2 separate regions of the Homo sapiens genome follow, and region 2 is linked to region 1. The links are contacts of gene promoters, found by promoter capture Hi-C in human tissues and cell types (Jung and others, 2019). All regions are on one chromosome and are shown on one strand. Each heading gives the region's core, a stretch centred on a gene start or on the middle of the fragment in contact. The rest is flanking DNA. Distances are from core to core; before and after follow the strand shown. Region 1 holds the start of NLE1 (notchless homolog 1). Region 2 has its middle 35 kb from the start of SLFN5.

Region 1 (6,352 bases), core at 2,328-4,827:
GGGCCACCACGCCTGGCCAGCAATCTGCATTTTAACAAGCCCCTGAGGCGGGGCAATTCTGATTTGTGCTCAAGTTTGAAAACCACTGTGGCAGAGGCAGGATTTAAACCAGGTTCTCCTTGGTAGCAGTCAGTCAGCCTCTCACCATGTCCCATATTGACTCCTTGGTGCAGTTTCTGCTTGTGTCTAAGTGGCTGGCTGGGCTCAAGGACATGGTCTCTACCTAGGAACAGACAGCCGCCAACTGGATATTAAGGGGTTGTAATCTGCAAAGTGAGACCCTCATCTGTATGAAAACAAAAAACGAGCCAGGTGTGATGGCAAGTGCCTGTCATCCCAGCTACTCTGGAGGCTGAAGTAGGGGGACTGCTTGAACCCAGGAGTTCAAGGCTTGAGCCCAGGAGTTCAAGTGAGCTGTGACTGCACCACTGTACTCCATCCTGGTCAACAGAGCAAGACCTTGTCTCAAAAAAAAAGAAGACCCCCTAAATGGCTAATTGCATACTGACCCTTGCATGTGAAATGTGGTGTCTCTGTGCTGAGATCCCAGAAGCGCACGGTGGTGTCTCCAGAGCCACTGGCCAGGTACCTGGGGAAGAAGAGAGGATGCTTGACACTGCACATGTGCATTTGTGCCACCTATTCAATCACTTTCTGTGAATAGAATATGGAACTGGACTCTTTCCTCGCCCCTGGAAGGGAGAAAGACAATACTGATGCTGTCCTCTGGGAGAATACATCAGGAGGCCATTTCTTTCCTCTCCACAGCTATAACCAGCTTTTGAAGCTTCTCATTACCTTTCTAAGTTTGAGAGAAGCAACTAATCCCAGTTTCACAGATGAAAAATTAACTCGGAAAGGTTAAGTGATTTATACAAGTCACACAGCTCAGATCTTGAAAAATCAAGTCTAGGAGAGGTTTGTCCAAGGCAGGGGTCCTTAAGCAGCCTTTGGGGACCATGCCCTACTGAGGAAGTCCCTTAATTGCAAGCTGAGTCCAGAGCTTGGGTCTATGGTAGGCAGCCCTGAGGCCCCATCAATTATAACTCTGGGAGACCCTCCCCAAACCAGGCAAAGACTGCACCCCCACATACCCCCTCCATGAGTCTGCAGCTGTCCTTACTTTCCCGTAGGGCTGAAGGCCACAGAAATGACTGCCTCACTGTGACCCTCCAAGGAGCTGGTGCAGCGAGTCACAGCCCGGACTCTGAAGATAGCCTGTGGCTGGTAGATGATGTCTAGGACCTTCTCTGTCTCCACTGCCTGGGACTCCAACGTCTTCCCCAGTGAGGAGACGATCTCAGCATCGTGGACAAAGAAAGCCAGTGGCAGGGGATCCTCCTGAAGGACAATGGTAAAGGACAAACCCGCAACAATGGATGTGCAGGGGCACCCTCTGCCAGGGATGCTCCCCACTGAGCTGTGGGAGGTGAAGCTTCTTCTTTTCAGCCATCGTGCTAGGGATACCCCCATCATTGCCCATTGAGCAAGACCTTTTATTTATTTATTTATTTATTTTTGAGACAAGAGTCTCGCTCTGTCACCCAGGCTGGAGTGCAGTGGAGCAATCTCTGCTCACTGCAACCTCCGCGTCCTGGGTTCAAGAGATTCTCCTGCCTCAGCCTCCCGAGTAGCTGGGATTACAGGCACCCATCACCACGCCTGGCTAAGTTTTATATTTTTAGTAGATACGGGGTTTCGCCACATTGGCCAGGCTGGTCTCAAGCTCCTGACCTCAGGTGATCCACCTGCCTCGGCCTCCCAAAGTGCTGGGATTACAGGCGTGAGCCACTGTGCCCAGCCTAGCAAGACCTTTTAAGTCACTGAACAGCAGTTGCAGGACACTTACACAGCACTTGGAAATTCTTTTTTCTTTTTTTTTTGAGATGGAGTCTCGTTCTGTTACTCAGGCTGGAGTGCAGTGGTGAGATCTCAGCTCACTGCAACCTCTGCCTCCTGGGTTCAAGCAATTCTCCTGCTTCAGCCTCCCGAGGAGCTGGGACTACAGGCGCCTGCCACCACGCCTGGCTAATTTTTGTATTTTCAGTAGAGACTGTTTTCGCCATATTGGCTAAGCTGGTCTCGAACTCCTGACCTCTAGTGATCTGCCCACCTCAGCCTCCCAAAGTACTGGGATTACAGGCATAAGCCACTGCACCCGGCCTGAAATTCTTTATCTGCATCTCATAACAACCGTGGGAAGTAGATACTAATATTCCCACTGACAGTTTTCAAAAGCAGAGGCTCAGAACAACTAAGTAATTAGTTCAATGTCCTATTGCCAATGATTAATTCAGGTTCTTTACGTCCAAGATAGGATTAGCATATAGCATTATGCAGTGTTTCCCAAACTACCACACTACACTATATTTGTGTAAAAAGCTCCCAAAACGCCTGTTAAAAAATGTAGACTTTCTGCTTCATCCCAGAGTTTGGTTTAGTAAGGCTGGGATGGGGTCCAGGAACTGCAATTTTAAGGACCTCCCCTGTCCCCAGGGCAGCTCTTCAGTAAACACACTGGCTTAAAGGTTAAAAGCAAAGGCCGGGTGCGGTGGCTCACGCCAGTAATCCCCAGCACTTTGGAGGCCAAGGCGGGAGGATCACGAGGTCAAGAGATCGAGACCATCCTGGCCAACGTGGTGAAACCCAGTCCCCACTAAAAATACAAAAATTAGCTGGGTGTGGTGGCGCGCGCCTGTAGTCCCAGCTACTCGGGAGGCTGAGGCAGGAGAATCGCTTGAACCTGGGAGGCAGAGATTGCAGTGAGCAGAGATCACGCCACTACACTCCAGCTTGCCAGCCTGGCGACAAAGTGAGACTCCGTCTCAAAAAAAAAAAAAAAAAAGGTAAATAAATAAATAAATAAAAGCATGGGTATTCGGATAGTTTTGGGTTCCAATTCCAAATCTGCTACCTACTACATAGCATCGTGCAAAATACTGAGTCCCTCCGGGCCACGCTGTAAAATGGGGATATTAACGTGTCCCAGACTGGGGGACTGTGACAAAGAATCAATGAAATACAGCATCCGGTGCGTTCAAAGCTAGGCCCCTCTCCGCAGGTGGACCCCTTTGGTTGGCGTGTAAAGCGCTATGCCACTGATTCCATCTCTGACATAGGTGGGAGCTCACGCCAGGTGGGTCACCACAGTCCGTTAGCGGGGGACCATGAACCGCAGACCCTCGGTAATATGATTCCCCCACCGCATCCGCCCGGGGGTGGAGATGCGAGGCCGCCCTGGCCAGCCACTTACCTGGGCCAGTAGCGCGTTGCACACGAGCTGCAGCCTGTCCGGGGTGATGTCCACGGGCACGTCGAACGGGGAACCCAGCAGCTGCCCGCCCTCATCCTGGAACTGCACTAGCAACCGCTGCACATCGCGCGCCACCGCCTCGTCCTGCGCGAGCAAGTGGGGCGGGAGTCAGTCTGGTCGCCCGCCCAGAAGGGCCCCACTTCGCCTCTCTCAGGCCTCAGGGACCCGGGCCCTAGCGCCCCGCGGCGACGCCCCCCGCCCCCATCCACGCACACCCACCGGCACTGCTGCCGCCATCCTGCGTCCCCACGTGGAGGAGAAAGAGCCCGGCAGACAGAGCGCCGTCTCCGTGGTCGGGCGGGGTCGCCGCCGGCCACATCGCCCTCTGCTGTTGGGGAGGAGAAGCGTCCCGCTGCGCACGGCCTCAGGGATTAGAAATGGGCTTACCTGGTGCTCCTCCCGCCCCTCAACAGCCTTCACATTTATTTTTCGCCAGGGTCTTAGAGGACACAGTAAACTTTTGACTCTTCACAACAGGGATTCTTGCCCCATTTTAATTTAATTTCATTTTGAGACAGAGTTTCACTCCGTCGCCCAGACTGGAGGGCAGTGGTGCCACCACGGCTCACTGCAGTCTCGAACTTTCTGGCACAGCGATCCTCCCACCTCAGCCTCAGAGTAGCCTGGACTACAGGCACATGACACCCTGCCCGGTTATTTTTTTCTCATTTTTTGTAGAGACGAGGTCTCACTATGTTGCCCAGGCTGGTCTCAAACTCCTGAACTCAAGCAGCAAGTCCCCCACTCCCCAGCCTCAGTGTCCCAAAGTGCTGGGATTACAGGTGTGAGCCACCACGCCTAGCCTAGAAATTAGTATCCTTTTAAAAATGGATCAAGTCAAGGCTGGGCGTGGTGGCTGACACCTGTAATCCCAGCGCTTTGGAAGGCCCAGGCGAGCAGATCACTTGAGTCCAGGAGTTCGAGACCAGCCTGGCCAACATGGTGAAACCAGGTCTCTACTAAAAATACAAAAAAATTAACCAGCCGTGGTGGCATGCGCCTGTGGTCATAGCTACTGGAGAGGCTGAGGTGGTAGATTCTCTTGAACCTGGGAGGCAGAGGTTGCAGTGAGCCGAGCTCTCACCACTGCACTCCAGCCTGGATGACAGAGCAAGACTCTGTCTCAATAAATAAATAAATAAATAAATAAATAAATAAATAAATAAATAAATAAAATGGATCAACTCAATAATACTCGAGTACAAAAGCAAATCATTTCTACAATCATCAATGCTGTAAAGCAATAATAGTGATAATGACATCAACAAGTCAGGAATTGTTCTAAGTGCTTTCCCACATAACTCATTTAATTCTTACAACCCTTTTCTCCCCATATTACTGAGGAACTGAAGCAGACAGCAATGAACTTGAGCTCTTTTGCCTGAAACGAAGGATCTCCCTTGCCAACTCTCCTCTCTCTCCCTCCACTGCTCAGGCAGTCTCAAGCTCTGCCAAGTCATCCTCATGAACACAGCTTGAATCTGCTCTCCCCATCTCCACTGCCTCACTCTGGTCAGAGTCACCATCATCACCTGCCTGGACCGCTACAACAGCCTCCCGATGAGCCCCCCCATTTCCATTCCTGCCTCTTTCTACCCATTCTCCACGATGCAGCCAGGGTTATCTTTTCAGACCAAAAATCTGGCCTGCTGCTCTTCACCCTCAAACCCTGCGACGGCTCCCTTACATGCAGGAAAAAAAGAACACTCCTTATAATGGTCAATTCAGCCTTGCTATGTCCAGCCACCCCTCTCTTTAGGTTAAATCTTGCTGGCTTTTTCTGAGTTCTTACAAGGCATGGCTCTTCCTGCATCAGTGATTTTGCCCATGCAGTTTTTTCTGTCTGGAACTGTTATGGAGTGAATTGTGCCCTTCCCCTAATTCAAGCTTGTCCAACCCCTGGGCCACAGGCTGCATGCAGCCCAGGATGGCTTTGAATGCAGCCCAACACAAATTCGTAAGCTTTCTTAAAACATTATGAGATTTTCTTTCGATTTTTTTTTTCAGCTCATCAGCTATCATTAGTGTATTTTATGTGTAGCCCAAGGCAATTCTTTTTCCACTGTGGCCCAGAGAAGCCAAAAGATTGGACGCCTCTGCCCTAATTTATATATTGAAGCCCTAGCTCTGAATGTGGCTGTATTTGGAGATAGCATATATTATTATTATTGTTTTTTTTTTTTTTTTTTAGAGACAGGGTCTCACTCTGTTGCCCAGACTAGAGTGTAGTAGTGTGATCATAGCTCACACAGCTTCAAACTCCCAGGCTCAAGTGCTCTTCTTACCTTAGTGTTCTGAGTAGCTAGGACAACAGGTGTGTGCCACTATACCTGACACTCGGCTAACTTTTAAAAATTTTTGTAGAGACAAGGCTGTCACTCTGTTGCCTAAGCTGGTCTCGAACTCTTGGCCTCAAATGATCTTCCTGTCTTAGGCCTTCCAAAGTGCTGGGATTACAGGTGTAAGCCACCATGCCTGGCCTGGAGATGGGCCCTGAAAGGACATAGGAAGGGTTAATAAGTGAGTTTGTATGGGTAGGACACTAATCAGATAGAACTGGTGCCCTTGTGAAATGAGGAGACTCCAGAGTACTCTCTCTCTGTCTCTCCCCGCCCCCCGCACTGCCTCCCTGAGCACACACAAAGATGAGGCCATAGTAGGACACAGTGAGAAGGTGGCTGTTTGCATCCAGGAAGAGAGGCCTCACCAGAAACCAACCCTCATGGCACCTTGACCTTGGATTTCTCTACTCCAGAGCTGTGAGAAAATAAATTTCTGTTGTTGAAGCCTCCCTGTCTGTGCTATTTTGTTATGGTAGCCAGAGCCAACTAATACAGGAATAGTTCCTCATTCTTCAGGTCTTGCCTTGAATATTTATTCATTCATCCAATAAATGTATTGAGTGCCTACTCTCTGCCAGACGTTGTCGGAGTTCTATGTGTATCAACTCATTTATCACTTACGCAGGGAAACCTTTGAAATGATGTCATATGATGTCATATTTCCCTGTTGTATGTTTTCAAAACATCCTGGTATTCC
Region 2 (6,352 bases), core at 2,317-4,816, 140 kb after region 1:
AACTGAGGTACAGAGTTCATCTCACTGGGGAGTATCGGAAAGTGGGTGCAGGTCAGTGGGTGCAGTGCACCGCGCATGAGCCAAAGCAGGGTGAGGCATCGCTTCACCTGGGAAGTGCAAGGGGTCAGGGAATTCCCTTTCCTAGTCAAAGAAAGGGGTGACAGATGGCACCTGGAAAATCAGGTCACTCCCACCTTAATGCTGCACTTTTCCAACGGTCTTAGCAAATGGCACACCAGGAGATTATATCCTGCACATGGCTCCGAGGGTCCTATGCCCACGGAGCCTTGCTCATTGCTAGCACAGCAGTCTGAGATCAAACTGCAAGGCGGCAGCAAGGCTGGGGGATGGGCGCCCACCATTGTCCAGGCTTGAATAGGTAAACAAAGCTTCCAGGAAGCTCAAACTGGGTGGAACCCACCACAGCTCAAGGAGGCCTGCCTGCCTCAGTAGACTCCACCTCTGGGGGCAGGGCACAGCCAAACAAAAGGAGCAGAATCTTCTGCAGACTAAAATGTCCCTGTCTGACAGCTTTGAAGAGAGCAGTGGTTCTCCCAGCACAGAGCTGGAGATCTGAGAATGGACAGACTGCCTCCTCAAGTGGGTCCCTGACCCCTGAGTAGCCTAACTGGGAGGCACCCCCCAGTAGGGGCAGACTGACACCTCACACAGCCAGGTACTCCTCTGAGACAAAACTTCCAGAGGAACGATCAGGCAGCAACATTTGCTGTTCACCAATATCCACTGTTCTGCAGCCTCTGCTGCTGATACCCAGGCAAACAGGGTCTGGAGTGGACCTCCAGCAAACTCCAACAGACCTGCAGCTGAGGGTCCTGACTGTTAGAAGGAAAACTAACAAGCAGAAAGGACATCCACACCAAAACCACATCTGTACATCACCATCATCAAAGACCAAAGGTAGATAAAACCACAAAGATGGGGTAAAAACAGAGCAGAAAAACTGGAAACTCTAAAAACCAGAGCGCCTTTCCTCCTCCAAAGGAACACAGCTCCTCACCAGCAATGGAACAAAGCTGGATGGAGAATGACTTTGACGAGTTGAGAGAAGAAGGCTTCACATGATCAAACTACTCCGAGCTAAAGGAGGAAGTTCAAACCCATGGCAAAGAAGTTAAAAACCTTGAAAAAAAATCAGACGAATGGCTGACTAGAATAACCAATTCAGAGAAGTCCTTAAAGGACCTGATGGAGCTGAAAACCAAGGCACGAGAACTACATGATGAATGCACAAGCCTCAGTAGCCAATTTGATCAACTGGAAGAAAGGGTATCAGTGATGGAAGATCAAATGAATGAAATGAAGTGAGAAGAGAAGTTTAGAGAAAAAAGAATAAAAAGAACGAACAAAGCCTCCAAGAAATATGGGACTATGTGAAAAGACGGGGAGAATGGAACCAAGTTGGAAAACACTCTTCAGGATATTATCCAGGAGAACTTCCCCAACCTAGCAAGTCAGGCCAACATTCAAATTCAGGAAATACAGAGAACGCCACAAAGATACTCCTCGAGAAGAGCAACTCCAAGACACATAATTGTCAGATTCACCAAAGTTGAAATGAAGGAAAAAATGTTAAGGGCAGCCAGAGAGAAAGGTCGGGTTACCCACAAAGGGAAGCCCATCAGACTAACAGCTGGTCTCTTGGCAGGAACTCTACAAGCCAGAAGAGAGTGGGGACCAATATTCAACATTCTTAAAGAAAAGAAATTTCAACCCAGAATTTCATATCCAGCCAAACTAAAGCTTCATAAGTGAAGGAGAAATAAAATCCTTTACAGACAAGCAAATGCTGAGAGATTTTGTCACCACCAGGCCTGCCTTACAAGAGCTCCTGAAGGAAGCTAACACATAATAATCTTAACCTTAAATGTAAATGGGCTAAATGCTCCAATTAAAAGACACAGAGTGGCAAACTGGATAAAGAGTCAAGACCCATCAGTGTGCTGTATTCAGGAAACCCATCTCACATGCAGAGACACACATAGGCTCAAAATAAAGGGATGGAGGAAGATCTACCAAGCAAATGGAAAACAAAAAAAGGCAGGGGTTGCAATCCCAGTCTCTGATAAAACAGACTTTAAACCAACAAAGATCAAAAGAGACAAAGAAGGCCATTACATAATGGTAAAGGGATCAATTCAACAAGAAGAGCTGACTATCCTAAATATATATGCGCCCAATACAGGATCACCCAGATTCATAAAGCAAGTCCTTAGAGACCTACAAAGAAACTTAGACTCCCACACAATAATAATGGGAGACTTTAACACCCCACTGTCCACATTAGACAGATCAACGAGACAGAAAGTTAACAAGGATATCCAGGAATTGAACTCAGCTCTGCACCAAGCAGAGCTAATAGACATCTACAGACCTCTCCACCCCAAATCAACAGAATATACATTCTTCTCAGCACCACACCACACTTATTCCAAAATTGACCACATAGTTGGAAGTAAAGGACTCCTCAGCAAATGCAAAAGAACAGAAATTATAACAAACTCTCTCTCAGACCACAGTGCAATCAAACTAGAACTCAGGACTAAGAAACTCACTCAAAACCGCTCAACTACATGGAAACTGTACAACCTGCTCCTGAATGACTACTGGGTACATAACGAAATGAAGGCAGAAATAAAGATGTTCTTTGAAACCAACAAGAACAAAGACACAACATACCAGAATCTCTGGGACACATTCAAAGCTGTGTGTAGAGGGAAATTTATAGCACTGAATAACCACAAGAGAAAGCAGGAAAGATCTAAAATTGACACTCTAACACCACAATTAAAAGAGCTAGAGAAGCAAGAGCAAACACATTCAAAAGCTAGCAGAAGGCAAGAAATAACTAAGATCAGAGCAGAACTGAAGGAAATACAGACACAAAAAAAATCCTTCAAAAAATCAATGAATCCAGGAGCTGGTTTTTTGAAAAGATCAACAAAACTGATGGACCGCTAGCAAGACCAATAAAGAAGAAAAGAGAGAAGAATCAAATAGACCCAATAAAAAATCATAAAGGGGATATCAGCACCAATCCCACAGAAATACAAACTACCATCAGAGAATACTATAAACACCTCTACACAAATAAACTAGAAAATCTAGAAGAAATGGATGAATTCCTCAACACATACACCCTCCCAAGACTAAACCAGGAAGAAGTTGAATCCCTGAATAGACCAATAACAAGTTCTGAAATTGAGGCAATAATTAATAGCTTACCAACCAAAAAAAGCCCAGGACCAGATGGATTCACAGCCGAATTCTACCAGAGGTACAAGGAGGAGCTGGTACCATTCCTTCTGAAACTATTCCAATCAATAGAAAAAGAGGGAATCCTCCCTAACTCATTTTATGAGGCCAGCATCATCCTGATACCAAAGCCTGGCAGAGACACAACAAAAAAATAGAATTTTAGACCAATATCCCTGGCGAACATTGATGCGAAAATCCTCAATAAAATACTGGCAAACCGAATCCAGCAGCACATCAAAAAGCTTATCCACCATGATCAAGTGGGCTTCATCCCTGGGATGCAAGGCTGGTTCAACATACGCAAATCAATAAATGTAATCCAGCATATAAACAGAACCAATGACAAAAACCATATGATTATCTCAATAGATGTAGAAAAGGCCTTTGACAAAATTCAACAATGCTTCATGCTAAAAACTCTCAATAAATTAGGTATTGATGGTGTGACCGGAATTGGTGGGTTCTTGGTCTCACTGACTTCAAGAATGAAGCCAGGGACCCTCGTGGTGAGTGTTACAGCTCTTAAGGTGGCGCATCTGGAGTTTGTTCCTTCTGATGTTCGGATGTGTTAGGAGTTTCTTCCTTCTGGTGGGTTCATGGTCTCTCTGGCTCAGGAGTGAAGCTGCAGACCTTCGACGGTGAGTGTTACAGCTCTTAAGGCAGCACGTCTGGAGTTGTTCGTTCCTCCCCATGGGCTCGTGGTCTCGCTGGCTTCAGGAGTGAAGCTGCAGACTTTCACGGTGAGTGTTACAGCTCATAAAAGCAGTGTGGACCCAAAGAGTGAACAGTAGCAAGATTTATTGCAAAGAGCGAAAGAACAAAGCTTCCACAGTGTGGAAGGGGACCCCAGTAAGTTGCCACCGCTGGCTCAGGAAGCCTGCTTTTATTCTCTTATCTGGCCCCACCCACATCCTGCTGATTGGTAGAGCCCAGTGGTCTGTTTTGACAGGGCGCTGGTTGGTGCGTTTACAATACCTGAGCTAGACACAAAGGTTCTCCATGTCCCCACCAGATTAGCTAGATACAGAGTGTCCACTGGTGCATTCACAAACCCTGAGCTAGACATAAAGGTCCTCCACGTCCCCACCAGACTCAGGAGCCCAGCTGGCTTCACCCAGTGGATCCCCCACCAGGGCAGCAGGTGGAGCTGCCTGCCAGTCCTGGTGCCGTGCGCCCGCACTCCTCAGCCCTTGGGTGGTCGATGGGACTGGGCGCCCTGGAGCAGGGGATGGCGCTCGTCGGGGAGGCTCCGGCCGCACTGGAGCCCACGGAGGGGGTGGGAGGCTCAGGCATGGCGGGCTGCAGGTCCCGAGCCCTGCCCCACGGGAAGGCAGCTAAGGCCCGGTGAGAAATCGAGCACGGCGCTGGTGGGCTGGCAGTTCTGGGGGACCCAGTACACCCTCCGCAGCCGCTGGCCCGGGTGCTAAGCCCCTCATTCCCCCGGGCGGCAGAGCCAGCCGGCTGCTCTGAGTTTGGGGCCCGCCATGCCCACGCCCACCCGGAACTCCAGCTGGCCCACAAGCACCGCGCACAGCCCTGGTTCCCGCTCAGGCCTCTCCCTCCACACCTCCCTTCAAGCTGAGGGAGCTGGCTCTGGCCTTGGCCAGCCCAGAAAGGGGCTCCCACAGTGCAGCGGTGGGCTGAAGGGCTCCTCAAGTGCCGCCAAAGTGGGAGCCCAGGCAGAGGAGGCGCCGAGAGCAAGCGAGGGCTGTGAGGACTGACAGCACGCTGTCACCTCTCAATGGGGCATATCTCAAAATAATAAGAGCTATCTATGACAAACCCACAGCCAATATCATACTGAATGGGCACAAACTGGAAGCATTCCCTTTGAAAACTGGCACAAGACAGGGATGCCCTCTCTCACCACTCCTATTCAACATAGTGTTGGAAGTTCTGGCCAGGGCAATCAGGCAAGAGAAGGAAATAAATGGTATTCAATTAGGAAAAGAGGAAGTCAAATTGTCCCTGTTTGCAGATGACATGATTGTATATCTAGAAAACACCATCGTCTCAGCCCAAAATCTCCTTAAGCTGATAGGCAACTTCGGCAAAGTCTCAGGATACAAAATGAATGTGCAAAAATCACAAGCATTCTTATACACCAATAACAGACAGAGAGCCAAATCATGAGTGAACTCCCATTCACAATTGCTTCAAAGAGAATAAAATAACTAGGAATCCAACTTACAAGGGATGTGAAGGACCTCTTCAAGGAGAACTACAAACCACTGCTCAATGAAATAAAAGAGGATACAAACAAATGGAAGAACATTCCATGCTCATGGGTAGGAAGAATCAATATCGTGAAAATGGTCATACTGCCCAAGGTAATTTATAGATTCAATGCCATCCCCATCAAGGTACCAATGATTTTCTTCACAGAATTGGAAAAAACTACTTTAAAGTTCATATGGAACCAAAAAAGAGCCCACATTGCCAAATCAATCCTAAACCAAAAGAACAAAGCTGGAGACATCACGCTACCTGACTTCAAACTATACTACAAGGCTACAGTAACCAAAACAGCATGGTGCTGGTACCAAAACAGACATATAGACCAATGGAACAGAACAGAGGCCTCAGAAATAACACCACACATCCACAACCATTTGATCTGACAAACCTAACAAAAACAAGCAATGGGGAAAGGATTCCCTATTCAATAAATGGTGTTGGGAAAACTGGCTAGCCACATGCAGAAAACTGAAAGTGGACCCCTTCCTTATGCCTTATACAAAAATTAACTCAAGATGGATTAAAGACTTAAATGTTAGACCTAAAGCCATAAAAACCCTAGAAGAAAACCTAGGCAATACCATTCAGGACATAGGCATGGGCAAGGACTTCATGTCTAAAACACCAAAAGCAATGGCAGCAAAAGCCAAAACTGACAAATGGGATCTAATTAAACTAAAGAGCTTCTGCACAGCAAAAGAAACTACCATCAGAGTGAACAGGCAACCTACAGAATGGGAGAAAATTTTTGCAATCTACTCAACTGACGAAGGGCTAATATCCAGAATCTACAATGAACTCATACAAATTTACAAGACAAAAACAAACAACCCCATCA

What was found. Contacts are between HindIII fragments. The study calls those that stand out against the background at their distance.
Region 2: a fragment that was not itself captured here is called in contact with the fragment with the promoter of NLE1 in region 1 in 1 of the 25 tissues and cell types used here (H1 embryonic stem cells).

The regions. Positions count from the first base shown.
Region 1 is chr17:35,138,726-35,145,077 of GRCh38, forward strand. It overlaps NLE1 (notchless homolog 1), which reads right to left and starts at 3,578. Exons shown (of 13, transcript NM_018096.5): 1 at 3,533-3,578; 2 at 3,254-3,397; 3 at 1,124-1,341; 4 at 510-589. The coding sequence starts at 3,550. RefSeq lists an enhancer at 3,009-3,886. The HindIII fragment of the contact is 6,679 bases long and covers 1,112-6,352 here.
Region 2 is chr17:35,274,462-35,280,813 of GRCh38, forward strand. No RefSeq gene overlaps it. Among named protein-coding and RNA genes, the nearest start is that of SLFN5, 35 kb to the left of the region's middle. The HindIII fragment of the contact is 4,983 bases long and covers 1,076-6,058 here.